Regions from separate parts of the Homo sapiens genome. Here regions 2, 3 and 4 are each linked to region 1. Evidence: promoter capture Hi-C in 16 types of primary human blood cells and fetal thymus (Javierre and others, 2016). All regions are on one chromosome and are shown on one strand. The core of a region is centred on a gene start or on the middle of the fragment in contact, and the rest is flanking DNA. Distances in the headings are between cores, read along the strand shown.

Region 1 (2,706 bases), core at 142-2,641:
GAGTCGAAATCGCGCCATTGCACTCCAGCCCGGGCAAGAAGAGCGAAACTCCGTCTCAAAAAAAAAAAAAAGTAATTTACATTTTCTTCTGCCTTTTTCACAGGACTCACTAGTCTCAGTTCCTGGAGATGGGAAGTACAAAACCTGTTTCTTTACTCAGTTGTAACTTGCACTGGCTTTCCTAACAATTACAGCATTCTGGGGTTCTCTGGGAACTTACACATCTGTTCTTTGCTCCCCAAATAAGCAGGTACTTTTTTTGATTGCTCTTAAACAATCTGGGTATTTCCCTCCCGGCCTCGCGTGATGCAGTTTAAAAAATAGAATAGGTCACGTTATTCCCCTGTTTCATCTTGTTGATAATTTGTGGAGTCGGGTAGAGACTCCATCTTCTATCTTAAGTATCTGGCGCTTGTGGGGGAATTAAGATCCTAAATGAGAATACTAAGTCCTTCGGCAGTTGGCACTAATCAATTACTCATTACTGATAACGGAATGAGCCACTGGAAATTTTAAAAGGAAAAGTACATGGGAGAACCTGATCAATTTAGCCAGCCACTTCTGGAGTGCCACAGTCACTAATGAAGCAACCTCCAGTGCAGGCCCTGGCTCCAGGGCGCTATGTACAACCTCCTGCCTCGCGCAACGTGGGTCTCCCGGAGCCTATCCTGCCAGCGCCGCGCACGGTCCCAGTCCACCAGGCCGCCAAGGCCCGGAGGGGGGCGCCCTAGTCGCGGGGAACACTGGAAATGCTTCAGGGGCGGACTCCGAAGACCGAGTATTGCCTCGAGGGACTTTCTGCGCCACCCCGTAATCGCTTGCGCTCCAGGTCTTCGTAGGTGGGGGCCGGGTGGGTGAAGACTGGGACCCTATGCCACGCGCAGCACTCAGAGGAGGGCTGGGGTCCCAGGGCCGCAGCGCGGTCAGTTCAGTCCGGGCTCGAGCTTCCTAGCAGCGCCCTCCTTGGGGGCTGGCCCTGACCCTCGGTGCCGCTACGAGTGGGTGGCCAGAAGCTGGTGGTGGAGAGGGAGAGCGTCTGCAAGGAACGACGAGGCTGGCGCCGGGACCACGCGGCGGAGGCGATCGAAAGAGAAACGAGGCCAGGCAAGGAGGAGGAAATCCACCCGATGAAGGCGAGCTGCCGCCTAAGAGGGAGGAGGGTCCTTTCGGCTGCCGCTGCTGCTGTTCCGGGACGCCGCCTGGGGAGCCAGCCCGCTCGTAAGGTGCGCGCCAGGTAGCTCCGCACCCAGGGGGCGCCCTTCCTGGCCCCTCCCAGAGCGGCCGGGACGGAAGGAGCTGCGCGGCGCGGCGCGGCGCGGCGCGGCGGGTGGCGAGGGCGGGCTGCACCCCGAGCGCGGCGCCCTTGAGCTGCACCGCGGCGCAGGTTTGCGAGCCGACTTGTCAGCCGGCCAAGAAAAGGAAGCTCCGTCCCTTCCCGCTCACCCGGCTTCCCCACCCCTTGTACTCTAAACTCTGCAGAGGGCGAGCGGCGCGGCCACGGAGGCGCCGAGGAGGAGCGAGCCGCCGCCGGGCAGCGGCGTGCCCTCGGGGGAGAGGGCGCCGGAGAGGAGGCGGCGGCGCGGCGGCGAGGGCGCGGCGCGCGATGGCAGCTGCTTAGCCCGGCGGGCGCGGAGCAGCCCCGAGCTGTGGCTGGCCAGGCGGTGCGGCTGGGCGGGGGACGCCGCCGCCGTTGCTGCCCGGCCCGGAGAGATGAGCACGGAGGCGGACGAGGGCATCACTTTCTCTGTGCCACCCTTCGCCCCCTCGGGCTTCTGCACCATCCCCGAGGGCGGCATCTGCAGGAGGGGAGGAGCGGCGGCGGTGGGCGAGGGCGAGGAGCACCAGCTGCCACCGCCGCCGCCGGGCAGCTTCTGGAACGTGGAGAGCGCCGCTGCCCCTGGCATCGGTTGTCCGGCGGCCACCTCCTCGAGCAGTGCCACCCGAGGCCGGGGCAGCTCTGTTGGCGGGGGCAGCCGACGGACCACGGTGGCATATGTGATCAACGAAGCGAGCCAAGGGCAACTGGTGGTGGCCGAGAGCGAGGCCCTGCAGAGCTTGCGGGAGGCGTGCGAGACAGTGGGCGCCACCCTGGAAACCCTGCATTTTGGGAAACTCGACTTTGGAGAAACCACCGTGCTGGACCGCTTTTACAATGCAGGTGCGTGTGTGACCCCTTTCCCATCCCGCGCGGTCGGGACCCGCGTTTAATCTGGCGGTCTTCGGGGCATTTCATTTTTCTGGGCGGGAAGCATTTACTTCTTGCCCCACTTTGGGGGCAGCGAGCGCCGCTGCGTGACTGCTCCTGTCGCTCGCCGCTCCGGAGAGAGCGTGTGTGCTTGTGCAAGAGTCTGTGTGTACTTGTGCGATAGACCTATGGATCCACCCACCGCCCAGCGCTGGAGCCCTGGGTCCATGCGATCGACTTGAACTGTTCTCCAGCAGTGTGAGATATTTGCCCCAGTCAGTCTTTCTCCTTTCAGTGTCTCGGTTTCGCTTCTGTGAGGTTTGGTCCCTGTTTTCTTTCTGCATATACCTGTGACCGTTTTAGATGAGGTTCTCCTTTTCTCTGTGTAGTTTTGAGAGTACGGGAACGATGACATACCATGCACGCAGAGTGTAACTATATTAATTTGCATGCCATGTGATGATCTTCCCAACTCACCTTACCTTCGATAAGTTTTAGTAGCTTGAATTTCCTCTCACCAA
Region 2 (2,706 bases), core at 96-2,595, 230 kb after region 1:
ATAGAGCAGTCTTATTTTAATAAAGGGAGATTGCCTCTCTGACTTTCATATCCCAATTTTGTCCTCTGAAACCCAGCTCTTGCCATCTCTACTATTTAGTGGGAAAGAACTTGGGTCTTTTCTCTTCTGAGACTTCATGGAAATCTTGGTTTCCCTCATTCCTCCTCTTCTCAAGCAAGAGTCCAAGGATAACACCCCATCGTTATGGAAGGTGTCCATGTTAGTCACTTATCTCTAGGTTACTCTCTGTTGCCCAGTCCTGAGTGGTGGTGTTTTTTGGACTCCTGCTGTGATCTCTGGAGGAGGAAAGTTCACTCATTACTGTTTTGGTTGACCTCCTCCCACCCATGCCTTCTGGTTAGAATTACGCAGATAGTAAAACTACTTTGTTTACCAAAGAGCTGGTATATCTGCTTTTCTGGCCCTGAAACCTCCTGTCTACACACCTGGCTGTGTCAATAGGACCTGCCTCTCCTAATGCAGCCTAGACACAAGTCCTTTTCCTTCTCTCCTTGGCCTATTTGGTTAGCGTTGTGCTCGCCACCCTGGCGCCACTGTCTGTCTACCATGCTTGGGCCATCTGCAGTCCCTGAGGGCTTCCGGCCGCTTTCTTCACAGCTTCCCCTTTCTCTTCTGAGTGTCTCTTGGTTCTAGCTGAGGGCCTGCTTCTCACATCTGCCCATCTCTGTTGAAAAGACTAGTATTTACCCACATTTCTTTATTACATTAGTATGTCACAACAACCCACACATTTACGCTTTTTCCTCTGCATATTTACATTTGAGTCTGTGAAATCTACAGATAATCAGCCTCGTTTTTCCTTTTTCAGTAATATCTCCCACGGCTTTCCATCACCCACAGAAAAGTGAGATGAGGGACGATGTTTGCTTCATGCATGATTTGAAGAAAGGACAGCTGCTTTAGTACAAAAACCAAGTAATTGAAATAAGGGACCAGTCCTGTCCATATTGGTCCTTCTAATTTTCAGTTGAATATTACCTGAAATATAAAGGCATACCTACCGCAAAATGAATCTAGAGGAAATGTTAGTGTGTTTTCAGGAAAGGTTGTAGCTCTCATATTAAAAATTGTAAGCTTAGAATATTTAGGATGATCACTGATGAAGGGAAATCAGGTTTATCCTGCTTGGAGGATCACCTGAGCCCAAGAGGTTGAGGCTACAGTGAGCCATGATTGCACCATTGCACTCCAGCCTGGGTGACAGAGCAAGACCCTATCTCAAAAACAAAAACAAAAACCTGTCTCAAGAGGAGCTGCCTGTTTATTTAATTTCCCCATCCTACAGTTCTGGAATTACCCACCAATCCACCTCATCACCCCTGCCCATCCAAGGTTAAAAATTGACCTCATGGCAGATCCTGCCATACTTTTTTGGAACAGAAAGGCAGACAGTTGCCTTGATTTCAAAATATTGCCCTGCTAAATAAACACAAAATAAAAATAAAATTGATGTACTGGATTGTTCTTAAGATAAATACTTCTAAGAGCTGGATTCGGAGCAAATGAGGTGGGCTGTCAATACTCTGCTTCCAGTGTTGAAGTTCTGGTGTTTAAGGTGTTAAAAGAAAGCTTCAGACAAATTAAATTTAATGGAGTTTAATTGAAAAAGAAAAAAATAGTTTGTGAATCAGGTGGCCTCTAGAATCACAGCAGATTCAGAGAGATTCCAGGGATGCCTCGTGGCCAGAACAAATTTATAGAAAATAAAAGTAAAGTGACGTACAGAAATCAGAAGTGTGCAGAAAGAGCTGGATTTGTTATGGGTTGGCGTTCACCTTATTTGAACACTCAGCAGTGTATGAGTGGTTGAAGTATGGCTCCTGGGATTAGCCAAGACTCAGCTATTGTTATAGACGCATACTCCTAAGTTAGGTTTTCAATCTTGTCTACCTGTTAAGTTATAGTTTGTCCACGAGGACTCAAATATGCAAGTACGGAGTCCTTCTCAGGCCATATTTCATTCACTTTAACAAAAGATAAAAAGAAATTACATAGTCTAGACAAACATAGGTTAAACTCTAGAAAACATCACTGTGTTCCTTGAGAAAACAGTAAGAAGATACCATCACTGTCTTATACGTATAAATTAGCAAGTAGGACAAAAATACATACCAGATCAAAAAACTGCCAACTTAAACATTCACACAGAGCTTCCTGCCCATTTCTTTGGATAATATTTGTTTTGAAAGAGATAAGAAGCCTCCCTCCAAGACCCTGTGCTCCCTCTTCTAGCTTTCAGTTCATGCTGCTTCATCCACCTCATTGTGCACCACACTTACCCTGCAGCTGTCTTTGTTAACTTATTTTCCTCCACCCACCTTCTCTGTCTACCTCTTATTGTGTTTTACTTTTGTCCCACCTCTGCTACCTACTCTGCTGTGATCCCTTCTCTCTGAGGATCTCATCTTTATGTCCTGTGGGAATGGGGTCGAGCCTGGGGGTCTGGGAAGGTTTCCTTCCCACTGAGTCCTGGAAAGGCTCTTTTCCAGGGACTGAGGTAGCAAGGAACAGAACATCCCTTATTAAAGACCAGACACTGACTTGGCACTGTACCTATGCTGTCTCATTTAATGCTCACAATAATCTTTTCTGGAAGCTTTAGTTTTCTTTTTTACAAATGATTTGAAAACTGAAGCCTGGAGGCATTAGGTAATTTATCTAAGGTTAACACAGGAAGTGCAGGGT
Region 3 (2,706 bases), core at 63-2,562, 170 kb after region 1:
TGTAGTACTTTGGGTTGTTGACAGTATTTTAGAAAATACTTGATGATATTCTAATGAATGAAACTGTGAAAACTTCACTCTGTGAATTAGCTCCTTCTGAGGTTTCGCTGCTGCATCATTCAGTGTTTGAAGTGCCAGACTGGTGGGGAAGAACGGGGCTTTCAAAGACTAGAAAAGAGAATGGCCCTGTGTGTGTTAGGCTCAGGTTGTCTTGGATAAAGGTGGATGTATTATGTGAATAGATGAGGAATAAGCACTATCAGAAATCGTTTAGGTTGGAACCAGTTCTAGGTTCCAGTCGGGCATGTGAGGAGCTTGGAAGTTGTCATTCCATCTTAACAAGTAGAAAGCTGAAGAGACTGAAATCAGTGGCTCTTCTTGGATTCGTCCGTGAAGTTGCAAGGGAGGCAGCTGCCCCTGAAATTGGAGAGACTGGAAAACTGAGAGACTCATAACTTACTGAGCAGAAATCCATGATCTGCTCACCTCTGTGGGAACCAGTGCTGGGGTAGGAAAACTGAACTGTAACTGACAAATCTCTAGAGGCCCACTGTGAAGTCTGAGTTAAAAACTCCAGTGGGACCCAGTCACTGAGGGCTGGGGATGAGGGTCACACTTTCATGAGTTTTGGAGCTTTACCAGGTCCTCAGAGAGACTTGAAATAAGAGAAATCCCATTGTGCTTCTGGCAGCAAGAAAGGAAAAGTCACTATTTCTTTTTTTTTTTTTTTTGAGACGGAGTCTTGCTCTGTCACCCAGGCTGGAGTTCAGTGGCACGATCTCGGCTCACTGCAAGCTCCACCTCCTGGGTCCATGCCAGTCTCCTGCCTCGGCCTCCTGAGTAGCTGGGACTACAGGTGCCTGCCACCACGCCTGGCTAATTTTTTGTATTTTTAATAGAGACGCGGTTTCACCGTGTTAACCAGGACGGTCTTGATCTCCTGACCTCGTGATCCGCCCGCCTCGGCCTCCCAAAGTGCTGGGATTACAGGCGTGAGCCACCATGCCCGGCAAAGTCACCATTTTTAAATACGCTGAAGCATTCTGTTCTTAACAAGGTCTGTCCACAAGAGACTCTATTTTACCGGAGCCTAACCAAACTAGGGGAAGTGGAGTACCAAATTTAGCCCAACTCTAGCTGTCCTGTCTCACCTAAGGGGGCTAAAGCTAAGGAGCACTTGTAAAATTCACAGCCCAGGGGCACTGGCTCACTAAAAGACTGAGACCTAATCACAGACCTGTCGAACTCTTCCCCTCCCTGACTGCTTCCCACCACATCACTAAAGGCCTATTTACTGCAGCACTTTCACCTAGGATATCATGTCCACCTTTCTATAGAAAACTATAAGGCATACTGAAAGACAAAAAACACAGTTTAAGCAACATAGCAAGTGTCAGAACCTGAACCAGATATGGCGGGGATATTAGAGTTATCAGATTGTGAATCGTATTCACATGCTTAGGGCTCTCATGGAAAGGTAGAGATTGTGCAGGAGCAGATGGTAATGTAAGCTCAGAGATGGAAATCCTAGGAATAATTTTTAAAAATGCTGGAGATCAAAAACAGTAATAGAAGTGAAGAATGGCTTTGATGGCTTATTAGTAGACTGGGCACAGTTAAAGAATCTCTGAGTTTCGGAATATATCAGTAGAAACTTTCAAAATTAAAAAAGCAAAGAGAAAAAAGACTGAAAAAAAAAACTGGGACAATATCCAAGAACTGTGTGACAACTACAAAATGTATAATATATACATTTTTGCCATCAAAAGTAATTAATGGCAAAAACCGCAATTACTTTTGCACCAACCTATGCTTGAAGAAATGAGTTGAATCTCACATAGTGAGGCCTTGTGAAAGGTGGAATCTTTTTTAGGAACAAAAATGTTCAGGAAACTGAAGCGCTCTGGTGATAGGATTATCTGTTGCTCACTGCTCTTGTGCTCTGCCTTATGGTTTATTTCTCCAACTAATAATTCTGTCTTCTCTCAACCTCATGATTTCTGCTGCCTTAGGGCTTCCCTTACATCTCTCTGTAAGGCAGTGCTCCTGTAATTAGTGCAACGCAGTTGTAGTGTATGATACACAGTTGTGTGTGTTGTGTATTCAAAGTCTGAAAGAGAGAAGATTGGATTATTTAATAGATGGTTATTATTATCCATATTTGGCCAGGCTTTAATGCTGGGCTACATCATGGGCTGACTCTGGCTGCCCTTGACTCCACGTTCTGTGGCCGTGGTCATAGGCCACATGACCAGCCTTCCTTAGGAAGGACCCACCCCTGAGCTCCCCAGGTTACCTGTCTACCCCACATCTCCAGTTATAGATCTCAAAGGCATCTCAAGGTTAACAGGACCAAAACTGAACCTGGATTTTTTTCCTTTTTTAACTTTTATTTTAGAACCAGGGGGTACATGCGCAGGTTTGTTACAAAAGAATATTGTGTGTTGCTTAGGTTTGGAGTACAAAGGAATCCATCAAATATACCTAGGTAGTGAGTATGTAACCCAATAGCAAACCCAGATTTTATTTTTATTTCCTTATTTCTTTAAGTCAGAGACTCACTCTGTCATTCAGGCTAGAGTGCAGTGGCCCCATCTCAGCTCATTGCAACCTCCACCTCCCGAGTTCAAGCAATGCTCATGCTTCAGCCTCCTGAGTAGCTGGGATTACAGGCCTGCATCATCATGCCTGCCTAATTTTTGTGTT
Region 4 (2,706 bases), core at 115-2,614, 130 kb after region 1:
TAATCTCTAACTCATCGTGGTGGTGTATGGATTGAGAGAGTTAACATTTTCAGTACACACAGTGCTAGGCATCTGAGTATTCAGTAAAGTCTGCCATTTTCCACTAAAACAGCCTTGAACATAATAACAGCTGCAAGGTGATAAGACTATGACAAAAAGTAAATGATTAAAAAATCCTCAGTGTAAGTCAACCAATTTTAATGACAGCATTGTCAGCATTTAAATTGCATAAATATGCAACTGAATCAAATAAATGGTGAAGTGGTTGTTAACACAGCAATGACATACTGCTCATTGCTTAAAAATTCAACCAAAATATTTTTAAATAGAGAAAAATATTGATCTGGAAGGACTTGGTTAAAAAGGTACAACTGAACATCACGAATTGTGCTTTATTAATTTTTCTGTATGGATGAAGAGCCTAAAAATATTTTAGTCTGGAACCAAGTATAACAGTACTCCTGAAATTCTATCCTATGGAAAAAATCCTAAATACAAAACAAATTTGATGCACTAAGATGTTTATTTCTATATTCTGTGTGGGTGTGAGAGAGAAAGAGAGAGGAAGAGAGAGAGAGAAAGGAAGAGAGAGAGGGAGAGAAAGGAAGAGAGAGAGGGAGAGAGAGAAAGGAAGAGACAGAGAGAACGGACTTCTAAATATAAAAAATTAGAGCCATGTTCTTAACTCCATACTTAAAAGATTAATGTCTTCATGTAGAAACAAGTTTGTGCAAAGAGCATAAATGCTCATTCACAAAAGAAATACAAACATGAAAAGAGAGCCAATCTCAGCGGTTAAAAAAGACAATGTTCCTTTTTTTCCTCTGTCATATTGGTAAAGATGAATGCACGTGATAGTCCCCCTCACTGGGAAGGGTGTGGGTAAGACCTTATTGTCAGATGCCTCCAGTGAAAGTATAAATTGGTACAGCATTTTCTAAGGGCAATTTGGCAAAAATGCATCAACACTAAAAATGGGCATGTCTTCTGTCCCTAACAAATCCACGTTTAGAACTGTATTATAAAGAAATAATTGAGCAAATACACAAAGCTGTGTGTACAAGAATGTTTAGAGTAATAAAAATGGCCACCCATCTGCATTTGGGTAAATAAATTATGATACATCCATATGCTAAAATACTAATTGACATCAAAAATATACATTTTATCCAAATGCTGGCTGGGTGTCACAATCATGTGATAAATGTATGGCAAGGCCAAAACCAAATATCACCACCACAAAATGAACTTCTGAGGTTCAAGAGTGCATCTGAAATTTTATTTTAAAACTATTATTGGGTCAGGTATGGTGGTTCATGCCTGTAATCCCAGAACTTTGGGAGGCCAAGGCGAGAGGACTGCTTGAGCCCAGGAGTTCGAGATGAGCCTGGCCCACAGAATGAGACCGTCTCTACAAAAAAATAAAAAGTAGAAACTACAAAGAAATTTAATTAGCCAGTTGTGGTAGCATCTGTTATCTCAGCTAGCAGGTCTAAGGCAGGAGGATCACTTGAGCCCAGGAGTTCGGCTGGGCAACATGGCGAAACCTTGTTTTTCCAGGAAAAAAAAACAAAATTTAGCTAGGTGTGGTGGCTCATGCCTGTACTCCCAGCTACCTGGGAGGCTGAGGTGGAAGGATCACTTGAGCCCAGAAATTCAAGGCTGCATTGAGCAGTGATCGTGCCACTGCACTCCAGCCTGGGCGACAGAGTGAGACCTTGTCTCAAAAACAACAACAACAAAATTATATCCAGATAGAAGACCGTGGATGTTGTCCTATGCGTGTGTAATATTTTTTTTTCATCTCGTGAAACAGCAGTGGCAAAGCTGTTCTCTCTTTACCCTCACAAAATGTGAAGAATTCCCAAATGGACATTTTCCTGAAATACTTGTGGTTTGAGTGGAATTATACGATAAAAAGTAACATGAAAAATTTTAAATGTTATTTTGTTTCTTTCACAGATAATTTTCAAAAAGCTAAAATCATGACTCTCATCAAATATAAAATGGACACATATAAAATCATGACCCTCAGCAAATATAAAATAGACACATAGAAAATATTTTATTTAACTCAACTAATATGGAAACTAGTAAGATGGAATGTCCAGTTCAAAAAACATTTCTATTCATAGACAACAAAGAAATGTTAAGATAAGATATCTGAGTTTGATTAAGGAAAAAAAAAAAAGCTGTTTTGTGTCCACAGGCCATAAATCTTAGGGATTTATCCATTCCACTCTACAGAAATTTGCATCTCTACTGGACAAAAATCTGCAAGTTAACAAGTAAACTTCTGTAAGTCTGGGACCTTTAATAAGTAGTACATAATGAGATGAACTAGCGTCACTTTCCTGAGATAGTCCTTGAGTGGCCTTATCTTCCCATATGATATTGAAATGATATATCCTACCTTTTTGCCTTATTTCTAAATCTCAGATAATTTTCCCAACAATTTAATGTGATGGATGTTAGTGGCACCAAACAATGCTACAAGGATATATTTTTTTAAGCAAACAAATACTTATAAAATGCAAAAATAATACAAGACATAGTAGAATTGAAAATATATAATGAAACATTAAGAACATAGAAGTGCCAAAACAGTGTTGAAAAAGAACAAAGTTGGAGTATCTACATTACCGGATTTCAGGACTTTTAAGACAGTGACATAACAAGACAGTATTATCTGTCAGTCTAGTTCCT

The links. The method cuts DNA at HindIII sites, captures the fragments that hold promoters and counts their contacts. A CHiCAGO score of 5 or more calls a contact.
Region 2: a contact is called between a fragment that was not itself captured here and the fragment with the promoter of MAP3K5 in region 1, in 1 of 17 cell types (megakaryocytes). The highest score is 8.1, in megakaryocytes.
Region 3: a fragment that was not itself captured here is called in contact with the fragment with the promoter of MAP3K5 in region 1 in 3 of 17 cell types (neutrophils, erythroblasts and naive CD8 T cells); the score reaches 10.0 in neutrophils.
Region 4: a contact is called between a fragment that was not itself captured here and the fragment with the promoter of MAP3K5 in region 1, in 9 of 17 cell types (megakaryocytes, total CD8 T cells, naive CD4 T cells and 6 more). The highest score is 9.5, in megakaryocytes.

Annotation. Positions count from the first base shown.
Region 1 is chr6:136,791,162-136,793,867 of GRCh38, reverse strand. MAP3K5 (mitogen-activated protein kinase kinase kinase 5) reads left to right here and starts at 1,391. Exons shown (of 30, transcript NM_005923.4): 1 at 1,391-2,158. The coding sequence starts at 1,711. RefSeq lists enhancers at 311-390, 761-820, 931-1,160, 1,951-2,020, 2,126-2,641 and a silencer at 1,181-1,820. The HindIII fragment of the contact is 11,326 bases long and covers 1-2,706 here.
Region 2 is chr6:136,563,985-136,566,690 of GRCh38, reverse strand. All of the region lies in intron 26 of MAP3K5 (mitogen-activated protein kinase kinase kinase 5), which reads left to right. Among named protein-coding and RNA genes, the nearest start is that of MAP7-AS1, 13 kb to the right of the region's middle. The HindIII fragment of the contact is 495 bases long and covers 1,098-1,592 here.
Region 3 is chr6:136,620,111-136,622,816 of GRCh38, reverse strand. All of the region lies in intron 15 of MAP3K5 (mitogen-activated protein kinase kinase kinase 5), which reads left to right. Among named protein-coding and RNA genes, the nearest start is that of MAP3K5-AS1, 7.6 kb to the left of the region's middle. The HindIII fragment of the contact is 4,602 bases long and covers 1-2,706 here.
Region 4 is chr6:136,660,433-136,663,138 of GRCh38, reverse strand. All of the region lies in intron 8 of MAP3K5 (mitogen-activated protein kinase kinase kinase 5), which reads left to right. Among named protein-coding and RNA genes, the nearest start is that of MAP3K5-AS1, 33 kb to the right of the region's middle. The HindIII fragment of the contact is 4,633 bases long and covers 1-2,706 here.